2 separate regions of the Homo sapiens genome follow, and region 2 is linked to region 1. Evidence: promoter capture Hi-C in 16 types of primary human blood cells and fetal thymus (Javierre and others, 2016). All regions are on one chromosome and are shown on one strand. Each heading gives the region's core, a stretch centred on a gene start or on the middle of the fragment in contact. The rest is flanking DNA. Distances are from core to core; before and after follow the strand shown.

The links. Contacts are between HindIII fragments. The CHiCAGO score rates a contact against its expected background, and 5 or more counts as called.
Region 2: a contact is called between the fragment with the promoter of ACAP3 here and a fragment that was not itself captured in region 1, in 1 of 17 cell types (erythroblasts). The highest score is 6.8, in erythroblasts.

What each region holds. Positions count from the first base shown.
Region 1 is chr1:1,616,746-1,621,373 of GRCh38, reverse strand. The region is part of intron 2 of MIB2 (MIB E3 ubiquitin protein ligase 2); the gene reads right to left. Among named protein-coding and RNA genes, the nearest start is that of MIB2, 3.6 kb to the right of the region's middle. The HindIII fragment of the contact is 1,337 bases long and covers 2,688-4,024 here.
Region 2 is chr1:1,305,257-1,309,591 of GRCh38, reverse strand. ACAP3 (ArfGAP with coiled-coil, ankyrin repeat and PH domains 3) reads left to right here and starts at 1,662. Exons shown (of 24, transcript NM_030649.3): 1 at 1,662-1,823. The coding sequence starts at 1,777. It overlaps PUSL1 (pseudouridine synthase like 1), which reads right to left and starts at 995. Exons shown (of 8, transcript NM_153339.3): 1 at 872-995; 2 at 620-677; 3 at 319-506; 4 at 1-138. The coding sequence starts at 948. RefSeq lists silencers at 354-483, 494-633, 664-733, 954-1,633, 1,674-1,843 and 2 more. The HindIII fragment of the contact is 38,674 bases long and covers 1-4,335 here.

The DNA.
Region 1 (4,628 bases), core at 2,107-4,606:
GCTCTGCCCTCCCCACGGCCTCCTGCAGCCTCCCGGCTGGGCCTCCGCATGAGCGGCTTCCACAGCCGGCAGCCAGAGAAACCCCACCTTGCCCTCGGAGGCCCCGCGGAGCCAGGAGCCCACCCACCACCCAGGGTGACCCACAGGCCCTCCCCATGGGCCCCTGTGGCACTATTCCCCTCGCGGGGCCTCTGAGGGCAGCCCCCAGGTGGTGCACTGCTGCGTCCTGTTTGGCCAGGACCCCACCAGCTTCAGCTTTGACTGAATGGCTGCATGAATGAAACATAAGAACCAGAGAGAATCTGTGCCAGGCTTCTGTGACAGCGGCAGCCCCTGTGTCCCGAGGACCCGCCCAGCACAGGCCGCTTCTAGCCATCCCAGCGCTGACTGCGCCTCACCCAGAGCATGTCCAGGTGGACACAGTTCCACCGGCCAGCCCAGCTCCATGGCCCCACCTGGGTCATGACACTTGACTCTCCAGATCTCTGCAGACCCTCCCATCCCCACTGGGGGCTGTCTTGGAGGGAGGTCACTCCCTCCTGCCCCAGCAGCTCCCCACTGCCTGCTCTGCCACCAGCTGGGGGGCAGGCTCTGCAGGGTTCCTGCTCCCAGGATCCACAAACTGACCTCAGCTTTTGCCCATGGAGCACCCAAGAAGGGTGAGGCATGGCCTGGGCTGAGCTCCCCCACTCCAGCCTCCTCTACACAGGGACCTTCGCCACAGAATGGCACAGGCCGGGGAGGCCGACGCAGCAGTCTGCTGGCGGGGGGACAAGTGAGAGGGGCACTGCTCCTTAGGGTTGCAGACCCCACCCCCTGCCAGGCCGTCCACCTCCACCAGATCCACACGCAACCTCCTCCTTGCCAGGATCCCACCAGAATCGGCCACAGCTGGAATCACACTAAGCCGGGGACTCCTCCCTGCCAAACACCTCCACTTAGCCAGAGCAGGGCTCATCACAGGCAGCCGCAGAACCGACTGGAGGTCTTTGCTAGTAGGGGACACGCATCTGCCGACCCCCGAGATGGGCCCGGCAATGGAGATGAAGGACTTGGGACCGCAAAAAAGCCAATGCCATGAGCCCACACTGTGATCCTTCTGCAGCAGGGGGCGCCTTCTGTCTCTGCGCCCAGACTCTCAGCCACAGCCAGCTTAGCCCAGGCCAGCGGCCACACCTGCCCGACCCGCTGGCCATATGCCATTGGACCTTTCCAAAAAGACAGGGGCAGGGTGCCCCATGTGTGAGCCAATGTGTCCTGTGCTTTGGCAAATCTTGCCCTTGGGGGGATGGGCAGAGGGCAGAGATGTCGGGGAGGTCACCAGCAGGGCCTCTGGGAATCAAGACCAAGCCTTGGCGGCCCCCGCGTCACAGGGGCAGTGGGGTGGAGTGCCAAGGCCATCAGCCTGAGACAGGGTAGCCTGTGCCCCAGACTGGCACCTGTCTGCAGCATGCCCGGTATTTTTAGCACAGCCAGGCAGCTCTCCAGCCCTGGCCCACAAACCCCCACCCTCCCAGAGGCTGTCCCTCATGGAAGCCCACCTGAGTTGGGGCACAACTGGGCTGAACACAGGCAGGGCTTCCTCCCTGGCCTCACTTCTTGTGCCTGGAACCAGCCCCCCACTTGCTGAGGGCTGCCCCAACAAGGGGGACGAGCCTGGACAGGGGAGCTGGGTGCGCCCACCCACTCCCACCTCTCCCCGGGGGCTGGGATGTGAGCACACAGGGGCCTGTAGACCCGGCGCCTCCTCAAGGCCTCCCCTGCAGGGCCCCCACCCCAAGGGTCTGGGGTCTGTCCCACTTCCAAGGCAGTCCCTTCTGTCCAGCATGGCACTGCCCTGGAGTGGCCGCCTCATCTGAGCGGGGTCTCCAGCCATGCCTGCCCGCCTGCCAACCCTTCTGCGGTGCCAGTGTGCAGACAGACCACATGCGCGTGGATCCCAGGCTCAGGAGCTCAGTATCCTGGACCCTCTGGAGGGGCCAGCAGTTTTGGTTTTTTTGAGACGTAATCTCGCTCTGTCGCCCAGGCTGGAGCGCAGTGGCGCAATCTCAGCTCACTGCAAGCTCCGCCTCCCAAGTTCACGCCATTCTCCTACCTCAGCCTCCCGAGTAGCTGGGACTACAGGCGTCTGCCACCACACCTGGCTCATTTTTTCTATTTTTTAGTAGAGACGGGGGTTTCACCGTGTTAGCCAGGATGGTCTCGATCTCCTGACCTCGTGATCCGCCCGCCTCGGCCTCCCAAAGTGCTGGGATTCCAGGTGTGAGCCACTGTGCCCGGCCGCCAGCAGCTTTTGAGGCTCTGCCGCCTTTCTCCTCAGCTCCTTCCTGCAGCTGCCTGCCTGGCTTTCTCACCATTGCCCCAGGGCCAGCAGTCACCCAAGACCTGCCACTGGGCTCCTGGCACCCTGGCCCCAGGGCTCAGTACCTGCCTCCGAAGGCCTCTCTAGGGGGTGTTTGTGGTGGGGGCAGGAGGCAGTAATGAGACCCCCACAGGCAGGGAGGAGGGGCACCCCGCCAGGACCCAGCACTTGTATCCCTTGGTCTCTTCTCAAAGGGGACAGAGTGCACCTGCTTAGGGGCGGGAGGATCCAGCCCAGCATCGAGGGGCCTGCCCCATTCCCATTGTTCATGAGAGGTGGGGGCTGTGGGGTCGCACAAGCAGCCTGCCCATGTCAGAGGGAAGCTTGTGGACAAAAGGGCTCATCCCTTGGGCTTCCCTGACCATCCTGTCCTCCTGGGGCCATGGGACAGGTTCTGGGCTGGGTCTGGGTCAAGCTGACCCCGAGGGTACTGGCCACAGGACCCATCCCCTGGGCAGGCCTGGGAGCAGGTGATGTGGGGCTGGCGCTTGGCACACCCGCTGCAGACCTCAGGTGAGGACTTCCTGGAGGCAGGTGAGGAACACCAGATTAGGGGTAGGAGTGGGGTGGGCAGCCTGGAAATCAAGCCCTCTAGGACAGATGTTCCCCCAAGGGCCCCTCACTCCCTCTGCCTCCACCCTGGACCTGTCCAGCATCCATTCCTTCCTGGAGAGCAGGAGGCCTCTGGGTTGCCCCCTCCTATTTTTCTGTTCTACACCCACAAGGCTCCAGGTGCAGAGGAGGGGACCCGTGGGACCTGATCACCCTGATCACCTGCCCACAGCGGGTGAGCTCTGGGCCAGAGGCTGCTATGGGAAGTGCAGATGTCCAAGGCTAGCCCTGCCCTCACACCAACCTGGCCAAGGTTTCCCAGAAAGACAAACCAGAGACAGCCACAGCCACAGCCCAGCACTGGTGGAGGGGCTCCAGGGAGCAGACCAGCAGACCAGAGCTGTGGCCACGCAGCCCCTGGTGTACATCGTGGCGTACATGGCTGTGGCCACTCCTGCTCCTCCTCTTGGAAACATACAGCCCAGGCTTCCGCTTCAGGATGCTGCCCCACAATGGGTATCTTCATCTCAGTCAGAAATTTACTCAGAGAGTTACCAAATGTTTTTTCCTTTGCCAGAAATGCTAGACTTTGCCATCTACCCACAGTTCACAGGCTGTGCCCCTGGCTGGCATCTGAACCCCGCTGCAGGCAACTGCTCCCGATGTTTAAAATGATGGAGGCAGTCAGGGTGTGAAGACTCGGGCGACAGATCGACAGATGTGCTTTGGCAAATCGGAACTTACCTCAGAGCACACACCAGCCTCGAGGCAGCGTCCCAGGCATTTAATTGCTACTTCCTGGGTCACAGATTCGCTCGGCTACCAGGCTTTCCTGTTGGAAGCTAAAGCCACTGGAGACACAACACAGCAAACCAGACGGGCAGCCAGCAAGCCAGGCTGGAGAAAATGGTTTCTAAAGGCAGTGTCACACATTTAGCATTTACCGTCTTAACCACGCAAGCAGACACCGGGTCTGTTCTATTGCTGCTTAGTTTCTCTTTTTCACAAGAAACTGCAAGCTCTCAGAGGGCAGGAGGACTTCCGAACCATCAGTCAGGAGAGTGTAGGAGGAGAGAGTTCCCTTATTGCAAGTATTTTATCGGAGAAGCTTTAAAAGCCATAGAAACCAAATCCTATTTAGCGAGAAAGTTAGCAAATTGCCTTTATTCAGAAGAAGCAAGTTACATGGAACTGGACATGAGGCTGCCCTCCTCCTTGCACCTCCAGCTGTGCCTAATGACACCGAAATGCCGCTGTGTGTGGCACGCCACAGGCCATGGAGTAGCTCCAGCTAACGCAGATGGACATCCCAGGTGCCCCAGGGAGATCAGGCCCACGGAGTGGGATGAAGCCCTGAGGCGGGGAGGCCAGCATGGAGACACCTGCTGAGGGAAAGCCCACGAGCGCTGCGGCCACCTCCAATCCTGCCCATCTGGGTGGAGACCTACAGGCACCCTGCAGGCTGGGGTGTCATCCCACTCACCGCCCAGGGCTGCCCTCGGCCAGGAGAGCGCCACATTCAGACACTTGTTGCATGTGAGGCAACAGGCCAGGGTGGAACCGGACAAAGGGGGCCTCCCGGGAAGGGCCAGGCTTGCCGGCGCTCCTGCGCTGCGGCCGCTCTGCCCCAATCCTGCAGGTGCCTATCAGAGGCCTGTCTGGCACCTCTGCTTTCTTCCTCCATGGGTTCCGAACTCAGAGAGGAGACGCGGGA
Region 2 (4,335 bases), core at 413-2,912, 310 kb after region 1:
GTCCAGCATAGGTTGCGTTCAAACACCGGCAGCTCATCACGCCGGTGACAGCCAGTGGCCAGGCGGTACAGGTAGGTCCGGGACGTGGCTGCGTGACGAGCGTGGAAGTCGCTGGGCACTCGGAAGGCCCGCAGGACCCTATGGCGGCAGGTAAAGCTCACCGGAGGAACGACCCCGCCCGCCCGCGGTGTCACATTGGCTCTCCTTCCCCCTCGAGCTCCGACCAGACAAGGAAGTCTGTCCAGATCTCCAGCCTCCGCCCGCGACAGATGGAGTCGGGAAGGCACAGCCCCAGGGCTGCTTAGGTCGCGGGCTCACCTGATGGCCGGGTGCCGCAGGTGTGTGTTGAGGGCCTCGGCCAGGACCTCGGGCGGGAAGGGCGGCCGGCCTGAGCGGCGCTGGACGTCCAGGTGCGCCGCGTTGCTCAGGGCGTGGACCCCGGCGTCCGTGCGGCTGGAGATGGTGAACCTGACCGGCTCCACGGAATTCAGCCGCTCGGCGGCCTCCTGCAGGACCGAGCCGCGGGGCGGGCGGGTGAGCGAGGCCGGACCCCGGGGACGCGCGGGCGGGAGCCTCCCCCTTACCCCTCACCGGGCGTCCCGTGACCGGCTGAGCGCACCTCCAGGTAGTTCTGGACCCCGACGGCGCGCTGAGTGCCCCTGACGGCCGCGACCCCGCTGCGGGCAGAAGCGGGCGGAGGTTACCGGGGGCGCCCTGCCCTGGGGTCTCCGCCGCCGTCTGAGGCCAGGGCCGCTTCCTTCCCCGAACGTTTGGAACCCGCGTCCAGAGACATCCGCCTGCCCGCCCGCGCCCTCCTTCCCGCCTCCGCCCGGGCCCACGTGGCGCCCGCCGCTGCGCCTGGGAAACCTACTTAAAGTCGGTGCCCACGTACTGGAAGTACACAAGATAGCGCGCGCGCACGGAGCCTGAGGCCGGCGCCGAACTCATGGCGGAGCCCAGCCGGTGGCGTCAGAGGCGGCCTCCAGCGCAGGAATCCTGCGCGCGCGCGGACGCGGCCTGGTCACGCCCCCCCCCCCTCCCCCCCGGCCCCGGCCGCTCTTGCGCCTGCGCGGTGGCACCGCGCCACGGCGGCCAGAGTCGGGGAGCGGAGGCGGGGCCGGGCTTAGGGAGCGGCTGCAAAGTGCCGGCCCGCCGCCGAGCGCAGGCGCTCTACCTCTATCGCGGCGCCCCGGGAGGCGCGCACCAACCACGCGGTCACCCCGCGCTCTCGCGGGCGTGCATTCGTTCACTCGCTCATTCATTCGCCGCCGCCCACACTCCCCGAGCGCGCCCGTTCGCCGCGTTGCGGCCAAGTCCTCCCAGACGTGGTTTTTGCAAACGCCCTGAGTTGCGCAACGGCCGGGATGGTTGGAGCGGGCGGGCCCGCGCCCTCCCCGCGCCCTCCCCGCGCCCCACATTTCCACCGACTGTCCCCGGAGACGGCCGTGGCAGGCCCCGCCTCACTTCCGGACCGGGGTGGTCCCTGGACGCTGCGAGAGGCGTTTGGCGACGCTCCCCGGCGGTGACAGCGGGCGGCGCGCGCGGGCGGCGGACCTTGGCGACGCTCCCCGGCAGTGACAGCGGGCGGTGCGCGCGGGCGGCTGACTTTGGCGACGCTCCCCGGCGGTGACAGGCGGGGCGGGGCGCGGCGCGGCGGCCTCATTCCGGGGCGGGCGGGCGCCGAGGCGGCGCGGGCGGGACGAGCGGTCCGGGCCGGCGCGGCTGCCGCTCGGCGCCGCGGTCCTCGTGCCAGTGAGCGCCGCGGCCGCCGCAGCCATGACCGTGGAGTTCGAGGAGTGCGTCAAGGACTCCCCGCGCTTCAGGTGCGCCGCCCGGGGCCGCCGGGGTGGGCGCAGGCCGGGGGCGTCGCTGTCGCCTTTGTGCCCGGCGGCGGGGTGGGGAGGTCAGCGCCGGGCCGGGCCGCGGCCGCCGGGGAGGGGCTGGAGGACCGGCCTCGGACAAAGCGGCGGCCCCGCCCCGCCATGCCCCGGGGGTTGGAACAAAAGACGCTCCTGCCCTGTGCGGCCGCCCCGGGTGGAGGGCGTGCGCGTGGGCAGCCGTGGGCACCTCGGGACCGTCCGCCCCCGCTCTGTGTCTGCACCTCCACTGGGCTGAGCCCCTCCCGGGCCCTGCAGTCCAGCTCTGGCCAGGGTCGTCTGGGTCCGTGGGGGCGTCGGCCCCTGGTCTCTGACTTGATCCTGTGTCCAGAGCAGCGCGTGGGGAACAGGCAGCTGGAGCCGCGTTTAAGGCCTGGGGTAGGGTGCTTGGAAACGTGAAGTGGTTTGAATGACCCAGGGGCTTGGAGGGGTGGCGGCCGAGAAGAGCGGCGGGGAAGGTCAGGTAGGGGGTAGGGGTTGTGTGCACACCGAGTCTGCATGTTTTCCATCATTCGTGGCGTGCAGGCGTGTACACCTGCGTGAACTACATGTTCACAGACGTGTGCACAAGTGTGCATCGGCTTTGCTTGGTGGACATTTGGCAAACGACAATGGAGGCAAAGAAACCTCTCTGCATCCCCAAGTGCGCACCTGCGTGAGGCCCCCTCCTCTGCACGAGCTCGTGCGGGGTGCGCTCTTGTGAACTTTGCCCCTCTGCGTGCCTCCCTCCGGACACCAGGCCTTGCACAGGACGTGTGGATGAGCTGTGCCACGGGGCTGTGCTTGCTTCTGCATGTAGCCTGCCGATGAGTGCACGCAAGCGTGTGCACACACCACCTGTCTGTGTGGGTTCACGTACTGTGTTAGCCATGTCAGCAATAGACACATCACCTTGTACACGCGTGTTCCATCACTAGGTACACATGTTGATGCGTGTCTGTGCAGTGTCTCCTTGAACACACATGTATGTGTGGTACCAGTGTGTGCAGGCATGTTTGTGCATGAACATGTTTGCACATGTGTGCTTGATTGTGTATGTGTGGGTGTGCACGCGCGCGCTGGGTCTCTTGGGATCTGCTGGCAAGTCAGCATGTGTGTGGAGGCACGGGGAGCCTCTGTATCCCTGGAGCCCTCACCAGGAGGCTCAGGAGCCTTGGAGTGGGAGGCTCAGGGCCAGCCAGGAGAGTGGCCGCCAGCCCTGGGCAGAGGAACTGGGGCCATCCTCTGCTCTCCCATCTTCTGTTGCTGACCTGGGAAAAGGGGTTGAATAACTTGAGCACCCTAGGATCCTGCATTGAGGACCCGGGCTGTGGGGAGGTGTGGGCATGGCCTCCCTGCTGGGGGCTGGACCCTGGCTGAAGCACCCACCTTCTCCCTGGCCCCTCCGTCAGAAGCCTAATGGACCTCCTCCTCCACGCAGACGGCCCTGTACTGCCCTCTTCCAGTCGTGTGGGGGTGCTGGAACCCACTCACCTCTGGGCCTTCTCTCTGGTAACCGGCTCTCATGGGAGCCTGTTACAGGAGCCAGTTATGGGGGCTGTGGGGCTGCAGTAGGTGCCGTAGAGTGACTGCCCTGGGAAAGTGCCTCACCCCTGTGGGGCATGGACTGGAGTGGGGAGATGAGAATGGCCTGGCCCAGTGGGTTTTGGGGTTAGGCTGTGATTTAACTGGGGTTCGAGGGGCTCCCTGAGGCTGTCCTGGGGGCAGGCCCTAAGGGCGTAACTTGAGTTTCCTGGCCTACCGCCAGGTTGGGGGGCCAGGCAGGGTGGGCGGGAAGATGTGGTCTGTAACGTGGAGCCTGGTCGCCCCAGCCCGGGAGAGGGGGACCCTGCCCGCACCCTCCTGGTCTGGGGAGGGCCTAGTGGCAGCCCAGGTGCAGTGGGCCGGAGGCCAGGGGAGCCCGTGTAGGGGAACCGCCTGGCCTCTGTTCAGTGTGCCCCTCCCCTGGGTGGGGCTTCAGGCGCTGAGTCATGGCTTTGGTTGGGGGGCAGCCTCACCCTCCTCCCCGTCCTCCAAGCTGCTGAGGAAATCCTGGGCTGAGCACAGCAGAGGAGGCCTAGGTCCCCAGGACTGAGGAAGGGAGAGCTGAGGGGCTCCCAGCAGTGGGAGCGGCTCTCGGGGCCTCTGCCAGGGCCCACCCTGTCCCCATGAGCACGTCCGTGAGCTCCTGGGTGCAGCCATCCCCCCTTGCTGGCTCTCCAGGGACACGGGCGCCCCAAACCCGAGGGCGGCAGCTCTGGGTGCAGCTGTCTCTGCATCCGGCCCTGCTCAGGGGTGGCTGCAACTCCTGGGGTGTGGCGCTCTCTGCTGCCTTCTCCTGGGAGGATGGTCCCTTCTCTGTTCTGGGATCCTCCAGCTGAGGTAGAGGTCAGGGTCCAGGGGCTGCAGGCTGGGCACTGGCGGTCAGCGGACACCACAGCGAGATTCCCTCCATCGCCCCCTGCTTCGGGATTCAGAG